Regions from separate parts of the Homo sapiens genome. Here region 1 is linked to region 2. The links are contacts of gene promoters, found by promoter capture Hi-C in human tissues and cell types (Jung and others, 2019). All regions are on one chromosome and are shown on one strand. Each heading gives the region's core, a stretch centred on a gene start or on the middle of the fragment in contact. The rest is flanking DNA. Distances are from core to core; before and after follow the strand shown. Region 1 holds the start of ZNF679 (zinc finger protein 679). Region 2 overlaps ZNF679 (zinc finger protein 679).

Region 1 (4,156 bases), core at 240-2,739, 38 kb before region 2:
GATCACTCAGGTTCTGGGCAAAGGTATATTTCCCAATCACACACTTGGGAATGTACAGAAATGAGTTTCACAGTTTCACACGAGTCCTGGCTTCATGTATGAGAGGCAACCCCTCTTGTGAGTGGGGTTCAAGTAAAGGAGATACAGTCTCAACAATGCACAAAATGCATGCACAACAGCCCCAATCTCACCTGCAGATTGTGTTCCAATAGGGAACTCACAGCCTCACAGGTCTGCCGAATCATGGTTCGAGAGTCACCAAACCACCTGGAAACCAGATCCACATATGAGAGTAATAAATCCAACTTGCAACTGTTTTTATGTGTGAGATTAAGTGCCTCATTCGTAGGCTCTGTTTATCTGTAAGAATGAGGAAGAGTCTGTCGGCTGGGTCTGCATACAAGAGTCACAATCTCAGCTGTTAGCTAGGCCTTGTTATCACCTCTATCACTCTAGGGCTTCCTATGATAGTCCTGAGTGTTGTAATGTTCTGTGAACTTTATACAAGTAGGAGACCCAGGACATTACCTATGGCCTAAGCCTGGCTACAAAAGTCAAAATATCTCCCACTGTCTGTGTCCAGGTAAGAGAGTCATCATTGTGGTTGTGAGCTGGGCCCAGGTATATGCCACAATTTCACCTGCCGGCAAGAACAAAACAGGAGAATCACATCACCTGGGTGCTAGATCCAGTGATATGTCACAATGCCCACTGTAGGCAGGGCACAGGCAGGAGAGTCACATCATCTGAGTTCTTGGCTCAGCAGTATGTCACAATCCCTTCTGTAAGTAGGGCCCAGAGAGCAAGAAAAATCACATTACCTAGCTGCTGAGCCTGGCAATGTCACAATGCTCCCTGTTAACAGGGCCCAGGAAAGAGCACAGAGTCATATCACACAGCTGATTGGCCCAGAAATTTGTCAAAATCTTCACTGGTGGCAGGGCACAGGAAGAAAAGCAGAGTCACATTACCTAGGTGATGGACCCAGCCAAATGTCATGAACTTGCCTGTAAGCAGGGTCCAGGCAGGACAGGAGAGTCACATTACCTAGGTTATGGGCCCAGAGAGATTTCACAATTTCTACTGAGACCAGGGTCCTGGAATGAGAGAAAAGTTATACCACTTCTGTGAGGTGTCCAGAGGTATGTCACAGTGACCCCTTTGGCCTTGCCCACACAGGAAATGGAAGTCATATCACCTAGGTAATAAACCCAGAGTCATGTCACAATTTTTCCTGAAGGCAGGGCCAAGGCAGGAGAGTCACATCACCTAGGTTCTTGGCCCAGCAATATGTCACAATCCCTTCTAAATGCACAAGCAGGAAAGAAGAGTCACATAACTTAGGTACTGGGCACAGAAATATGCCACAATCCCCAATGGAGGCCAAGACAAGGCAAGTCAGTAGAGTCACATCACATAGGTGATAAGTCCAAAGATATGTCACAATGTACCCTGTGGTAAGGCCTGGGCTGGAGAGTTATATCACCTAGGTACTTGATCCAGGTATATGTCACATTCCCAACTGTTGGCTGGGCCCAAGCAAATTAGTAAAATAAATTAGGTGCTGTGTGAAAGTATACGCCACAATCACACCTGCGGGAAGGACCAGGAATAAATTTCACAATTCTACGTATTTCCCAGCTTTAGGTCTGAGAGTCTACACTTCTGGTGAGTTGCATCCAAATACACGAGACACAGTCTTAACACTGGACAGGATCCGTGCACGAGAGCTCCATCTCCACCTGCAAACAGAGTCCTCATAAGATAGGCACAGCCTCACCAGGGTGCTGAATCTTGGTCTCAGAGTCACTATCCTACCTGTTGATCAGATGCATGTATGTGAGTCAAACTTTCAACTTTTCATTGCCTCTGGGCATGAGATTCAGAACCTCAACAGTGAGCTGTGTCCATATGGGAGAGTGACCATCCTTATTGTTGGCTAGGTATGCATAGGAGATTCACAATTTCCTCTATGTTTTTGGCTCTGTTATGACACTCTTTGTACCATTTGAGATCTTCACACAACATGCTTGAGAGTGGAATTCTGCTCTGAGAACTTTATGTTTTTATGGATCCAAGATCTTACCCGTTACCCTAAGCCCAGGCAGAAGTTAACACATTTTCTCTTGCCTGGGTCCAGGTATGAGAGTCATCACCATGTTTGTGAGCTGGGCCCAGAAATGAGTCAGAATCTTACCTGTGGTCAGGTATTACAGTATTACAGAGAGTGTCAACACAGCCCAATACAAAGTTGCGTACAGTATAATAGGGCATTATACTGTACGCATGAGTGTTGTGATTTTTTTGTGACCTTTGTACAGTTAGAAAACCCAGAACCATCCCCATTTTCCCAAGCGTAACAGTGAGACAACGTCTCTTCTATTAGCTTGGTCCAAGTATAAGAGACAACACTGTGCCTGTGAGTTAGTCAAGAAATGACTTCCCCTTTGACCTGTGGCCACATCCACATACGACAGTCACGATTCCAACTGTGGTCTGCATCCATATGTGAGATTTATAACCTCACCAGTGGGCTGTGTCTAGGTTTAAGAGTGATAATCCCATTGTTGGCTGGATGTGCCTATGAGAGTCACAATCTCTCCTGCTTGTTGGACTGCATTATGACACAGCTCATAAAACTCATGGACTTTATAAAATATTTATGTCATATTTCCTGTGACCTTTTATAAGGAAATGCAGACCCTTACCTGTGTCCCTAAATCTAGCCAGGGGAGTAAAAAATCTGTTGTATTTGCTGGGTCTATGTATGAGAGTCATCATCATGTCTGCTAACTGGGCCTGGGTATATGTAACAATTTCACTTCAGAGTGTGGATCAGGTAAAACAGTCATATCATCTGAATTCAGGGCCAGGGATATGTCAGCATTCTCCTTGTGTGCAGTGCCATGGCAGGAAAGCCACATCACCTGAGTTCTGGGCTTAGTGATATGTTACAACACATGCTGCGAACATAAGAGGATAGTCACATCGCTTAAATGTTGGGCCCAGAAATGTCACAATTCCCACTGTCGGCATGGCCCAGGCAGGAGGGTAACATCATTTGGGTGCAGGATCCAGCGATATGTTACAATTCTTACTGGAAGCAGGACCCAGGCAGAAGGGAAGAGTAACATCACCTAGGTGATGGGTCTAAAAATATACTATGATTTCCCCTGTGGGCCACACTCAGGCAGAAAAAGATGGTAACATAACCCAGGTGATATACCCAGAGATATGTCCAAATTTCCCCTAAGAAAAGGGCCAAGAGGCCGGGCGCGGTGGCTCACGCCTGTAATCCCAGCACTTTGGGAGGCCGAGGCGGGTGGATCATGAGGTCAGGAGATCGAGACCATCCTGGCTAACAAGGTGAAACCCCGTCTCTACTAAAAATACAAAAAATTAGCCGGGCGCGGTGGCGGGCGCCTGTAGTCCCAGCTACTGGGGAGGCTGAGGCAGGAGAATGGCGTGAACCCGGGAAGCGGAGCTTGCAGTGAGCCGAGATTGCGCCACTGCAGTCCGCAGTCTGGCCTGGGCGACAGAGCGAGACTCCGTCTCAAAAAAAAAAAAAAAAAGAAAAAGAAAAGGGCCAAGAACAGGAGAGTAATATCACCAAGGTGTAGCCCAAATATATGTCACTGTCTCGTGTGTTTTATCCAGGCAAAATAATCAAATATCATGAGCTGGGCCAAGGTATATGTCACAATCACACCTGCAGGAATGTCCAGAGATTAGATTCACAATCTCACATTGGTCCCAACACCAGGTATGGGAGTAAACACTTGAGAGTTGGGTACAAGTTTGCAAGTCAGAATCTCAGTGGTGATCTGGATTCCTGCATGAGAGCCCCAAGACCCCTGCAGACCTTTTCCTGGTAGAATAGTAACAGCCTCACACGTGTGCTGAATATATGAAAGTCATCATCTTTTTCTGTGGAACAGATTCACATATAAGAGTCACAGTTCCAACTTTTGACTGTCTCTGAGCAGAAGATTCAGAAGCTCAGCAGTGACTGGGCTGTGTCCATGTGGCAAAGTGACAATCCTGACTGTTGGCCGTGCCTATGAGAGTCACAGTCCCATCTGTGTGCTGAGCCCTGTTATGACACTCTCTGTGCCACTCAGGAACTTTATAAAATATGCATATGAGTGTTGTAATC
Region 2 (4,165 bases), core at 911-3,410:
ATGCTTATAAATAATACCTCACTTTTATCTTATAGCTCCCAAGATTGTCTTCTGGCTAGTGACTTTTGAAACTTTGTTTAAATATGTGTTATGGATCTTTTTGTGTATATCCTAGTTTGTTTAGCTTCTTCATTTCTTACATTATTTTTTTCTTACTTCTAAATTTTTTCACTTATTCTTTTTTAATTCCATGATTGTTTTGTTTTTATTATTCCAAGCCTATTGTTGATATTCTTATTTTTCTAATTTTATTTAGGTGTCTGGTTTTCCATTTTTCTCACTGAGCATAATATGGATTATCTTATGTTTTTAAAATTAATATATGCCTCTTTATTTTTGTAGTTGCTTTTTCAAAATTTTTGATTTTTTTGATTAGACCATGTTGTCTTCATGTTTTGTATACATTGTAATCTTTGGTTGAGATTTAAACATTAACATAAAACTACCTTTCACGATCTTTATAATGCAGCTCTTTCTTGGCATAGCCTGAAACCAATTTTCTTTCTTGGCTAGAGATTCACAGAGTCTCTCAAACATGTTCTCAGGATGTGTCTTGTCTGCAATTTTGTATTTATTTTTCCATTAAAAGACTTCTCCATGTTTCTTCTTACCAGTAGGTAGCTACTTTCCACACCTATTTTCTATCCATGTACTACAGTCTTTCTGCTGTTGTAACATTCACCTTTGATCTCAAAAGACTTAAAGGTGTCATTTCAAAGCATACTACCATTTGATTCAGCACTTTCTATCATGGAAGACAGAAAGGCCTCCATAAGCCAAAAATAAAGATATAGGTGCCAGTATTTTTCTGGTCTTTTGTAATAAAAGCCAGTTTACTCCTAAAGACACCATGTTCTTCTATTGGGGATGAAGAAGGGCTGTGTTGGGTAAATGTATCAGACTTTTCTTTTCTGTCTATATGGCTCTTGGTATTGTGCCCACCTGGTGCACACACTTTATTTATAAATTTCCAGCAAAGGTATTTTGATCACTATGTTTTTGTTACATTTATACACCTATGAAGGAATTATGGCCTGTGGTAATTTGATATGCCATTTTGCTAAAGTACCTTGTATAATTTTATATATTCGATTTGTAAAGTATATCTATCTGGGTGTAGTAAGTGAAGTAACTTGTGATTTTTATGTCTTTCAGTTATGTGTTCTCATTTCACCCAAGACCTTCCGCCAGAGCTAGGCATAAAAGATTCACTCCAAAAAGTAATACCAAGAAGATATGGAAAAAGTGGACATGACAATTTACAAGTAAAAACATGTAAAAGCATGGGTGAGTGTGAGGTGCAAAAAGGAGGTTGTAATGAAGTTAACCAATGTTTGTCAACTACCCAAAACAAAATATTTCAGACTCATAAATGTGTCAAAGTCTTCGGCAAATTTTCAAATTCCAATAGACATAAGACAAGACATACTGGAAAGAAACATTTCAAATGTAAAAAATATGGCAAATCATTTTGCATGGTTTCACAACTACATCAACATCAGATAATTCATACTAGGGAGAATTCCTACCAATGTGAAGAATGCGGCAAACCCTTCAACTGCTCTTCAACCCTTTCTAAACATAAAAGAATTCATACTGGAGAGAAACCCTACAGATGTGAGGAATGTGGCAAAGCTTTTACCTGGTCCTCAACCCTTACTAAACATAGGAGAATTCATACTGGAGAAAAACCCTACACATGTGAAGAATGTGGCCAAGCCTTTAGCCGCTCCTCAACACTTGCTAACCACAAGAGAATTCATACTGGAGAGAAACCATACACATGTGAAGAATGTGGCAAAGCCTTTAGCTTATCCTCATCCCTCACTTACCACAAGAGAATTCATACTGGAGAGAAACCCTACACATGTGAAGAATGTGGCAAAGCCTTTAACTGCTCCTCAACCCTTAAGAAACATAAGATAATTCATACTGGAGAGAAACCCTACAAATGTAAAGAATGTGGGAAAGCCTTTGCCTTCTCCTCAACTCTTAATACTCATAAGAGGATTCATACTGGAGAGGAACCCTACAAATGTGAAGAATGTGACAAAGCTTTTAAGTGGTCCTCAAGTCTTGCTAATCATAAGAGTATGCATACTGGAGAGAAACCCTACAAATGTGAATAATGTGATAAAGTCCAGCCTTCAGACCTTATAATACATAAAATAATTTATACTTGAAAAAATCACTACAAGTGTAAAGAATGTGGCCAAGCCTTTAACCAGTTCCAAACCTTTATTGTACATAAGATAATTCATATTGAACAAAAGTCTTATAAATGTAAAAAAAAGTAACAAAGCCTTTAAGCAGCCCTCAAACCTTAAGGAACCTAAGAGAATTTATTTGAGAACAAAAAATTTTTGAGATGAAGTCTCACTTTGTCACCCAGGCTGGAGTGCAGTGGCATGATCTCAGCTCACTGCAACCTCTGCCTCTTGGGTTCAAGCAATTCTCCTGCCTCAGCCTCCTGAGTAGCTAGGATTACAGGTGCATGCAACCACACTGGCTGATTTTGTATTTTTAGTAGAGATGGGGTTTCACCATGTTGGCCAGGCTGGTCTTGAACTCCTGACTTCAAGTGATCTAACTGCCTCTCAGCCTCCCAAAGCCTAAAAGAGTTTATATTAGAGAGACTCTATGAAGGTAAAAAATGTGACAAAGCCTTTAAGCACATCTCAGGCCTTACACAATATCAGATAATTCATTTTAGAGAGAAACCCTACAAAAACAAAAATGTAGTTAAAAGCTTTAGCTTTTAACTAGTCTTGAACCCTTATTCTACATTAAGAAAATTAATACTGAAAAGAAACCCTACAATAAGGAATATGGAAATGTCTTTAAAAAGTCCTCAAATTTTTGTTTGAATAAATGTAAGATAATTGATATTGGAGACAACCCCTGCAATTGTAAAAAAAAAAAAAATGTGGCAAAGCCTTTAACTGGTTCTCCATCCTTATTAATTAAAAATTTTATGCTGGAGAGAAACTCTACATACATAAAAAATGTAACACAGCATTTAACCACACCTCAAACTTTCTAACAAAGAGAAATCATCCTGTTGAGAAACTCCAGAAATGTGTTAAATGTGGCAAGGCCTTTAAATGGTAGTCACACATTAGGGTAGGTAAGATAATTTATACTGAAGAAAACTCCTACAAAAATGAAAAATGTGGCAAAACTTTTAACAAATTCTCACACCTTATGGCACAAGAAAGCATTTATAACCAGAGAAAAATTGTACAAATACAAAGAATGTGAAAAGCCATTAATATCTGTTCACATCTTAATATCAGAAAGTTTATACTTAATAAAAGCATTATAAGCCAGGTGTGGTGGCTCATGACTGTAATCCCAGCACTTTGGGAGGCCAAGGCAGGTGGATCATGAGGTCCAGAGTTCAAGACCATCCTGGCCAACATGGTGAAACCCCATCTTTACTAAAAATAGAAAAATTAGCCAGGCATGGTGGCATGCACCTGTAATCCCAGCTACTTAGGAAGCTGGGGCAGGAGAATTACTTGAACCCAGGGGGCGGAGGTTGCGGTGAGCCGAGACTGGGCCACTGTACTCCAGCCTGGGCAACACAGCAAGACTCCATCTCAAAAAAAAAGTATTATACATGTGATTACTGTAAAAAGACCTTCAGAAAATATAGGCCTTTAAAGTAAGGACTGTTTATTCTGAAGACAAACATTTCAAACATAAAGAGGATTGTAGTACCTTTACTTGTAATATAGATTTTATTGTACACATTTTATATTAAAGGAAAACCCTGAAGCAGATGCTCAAACTTTGGTGAACGTCAGAGAATTTATATTTGAGAGAAAGCCTGAAAATGTAATGAATGTGAAAGAACATTTGTTCAAAAACTACAGCTTAGAAAACACCAGTTTCTACTAAAAAATATTTTTGCAGATGTAGCAAATGGGGAAAATATATTTAATCAAAAATTAAGTCTATATAAACATTTGAGAATTCACAGTAGAAAGAATGAAGGCACTGAAACTTCAGACATTACACTAAATCAGGGTGCTAGTTATAAAAATGATCCAAAGCTAACATTATATACATTTTAACGAAGTAGTTTTTTTTTTTGGAGATTTATAATTACATCCGAGGTATGCTTCTTTTTCTGTAAAAAAAATATACATTTTCTGAAAAG

The links. The method cuts DNA at HindIII sites, captures the fragments that hold promoters and counts their contacts. A contact is called where the count stands out against the background at its distance.
Region 1: the fragment with the promoter of ZNF679 here is called in contact with a fragment that was not itself captured in region 2 in 3 of the 25 tissues and cell types used here (pancreas, small bowel and stomach).

What each region holds. Positions count from the first base shown.
Region 1 is chr7:64,226,985-64,231,140 of GRCh38, forward strand. It overlaps ZNF679 (zinc finger protein 679), which reads left to right and starts at 1,490. Exons shown (of 5, transcript NM_153363.3): 1 at 1,490-1,668. It overlaps LOC105375319 (a long non-coding RNA gene), which reads right to left and starts at 637. Exons shown (of 4, transcript XR_927576.1): 1 at 529-637; 2 at 192-267. The HindIII fragment of the contact is 35,378 bases long and covers 1-4,156 here.
Region 2 is chr7:64,264,741-64,268,905 of GRCh38, forward strand. ZNF679 (zinc finger protein 679) reads left to right here. Exons shown (of 5, transcript NM_153363.3): 5 at 1,156-2,191. The coding sequence ends at 2,129. Among named protein-coding and RNA genes, the nearest start is that of ZNF679, 38 kb to the left of the region's middle. The HindIII fragment of the contact is 5,347 bases long and covers 1-4,165 here.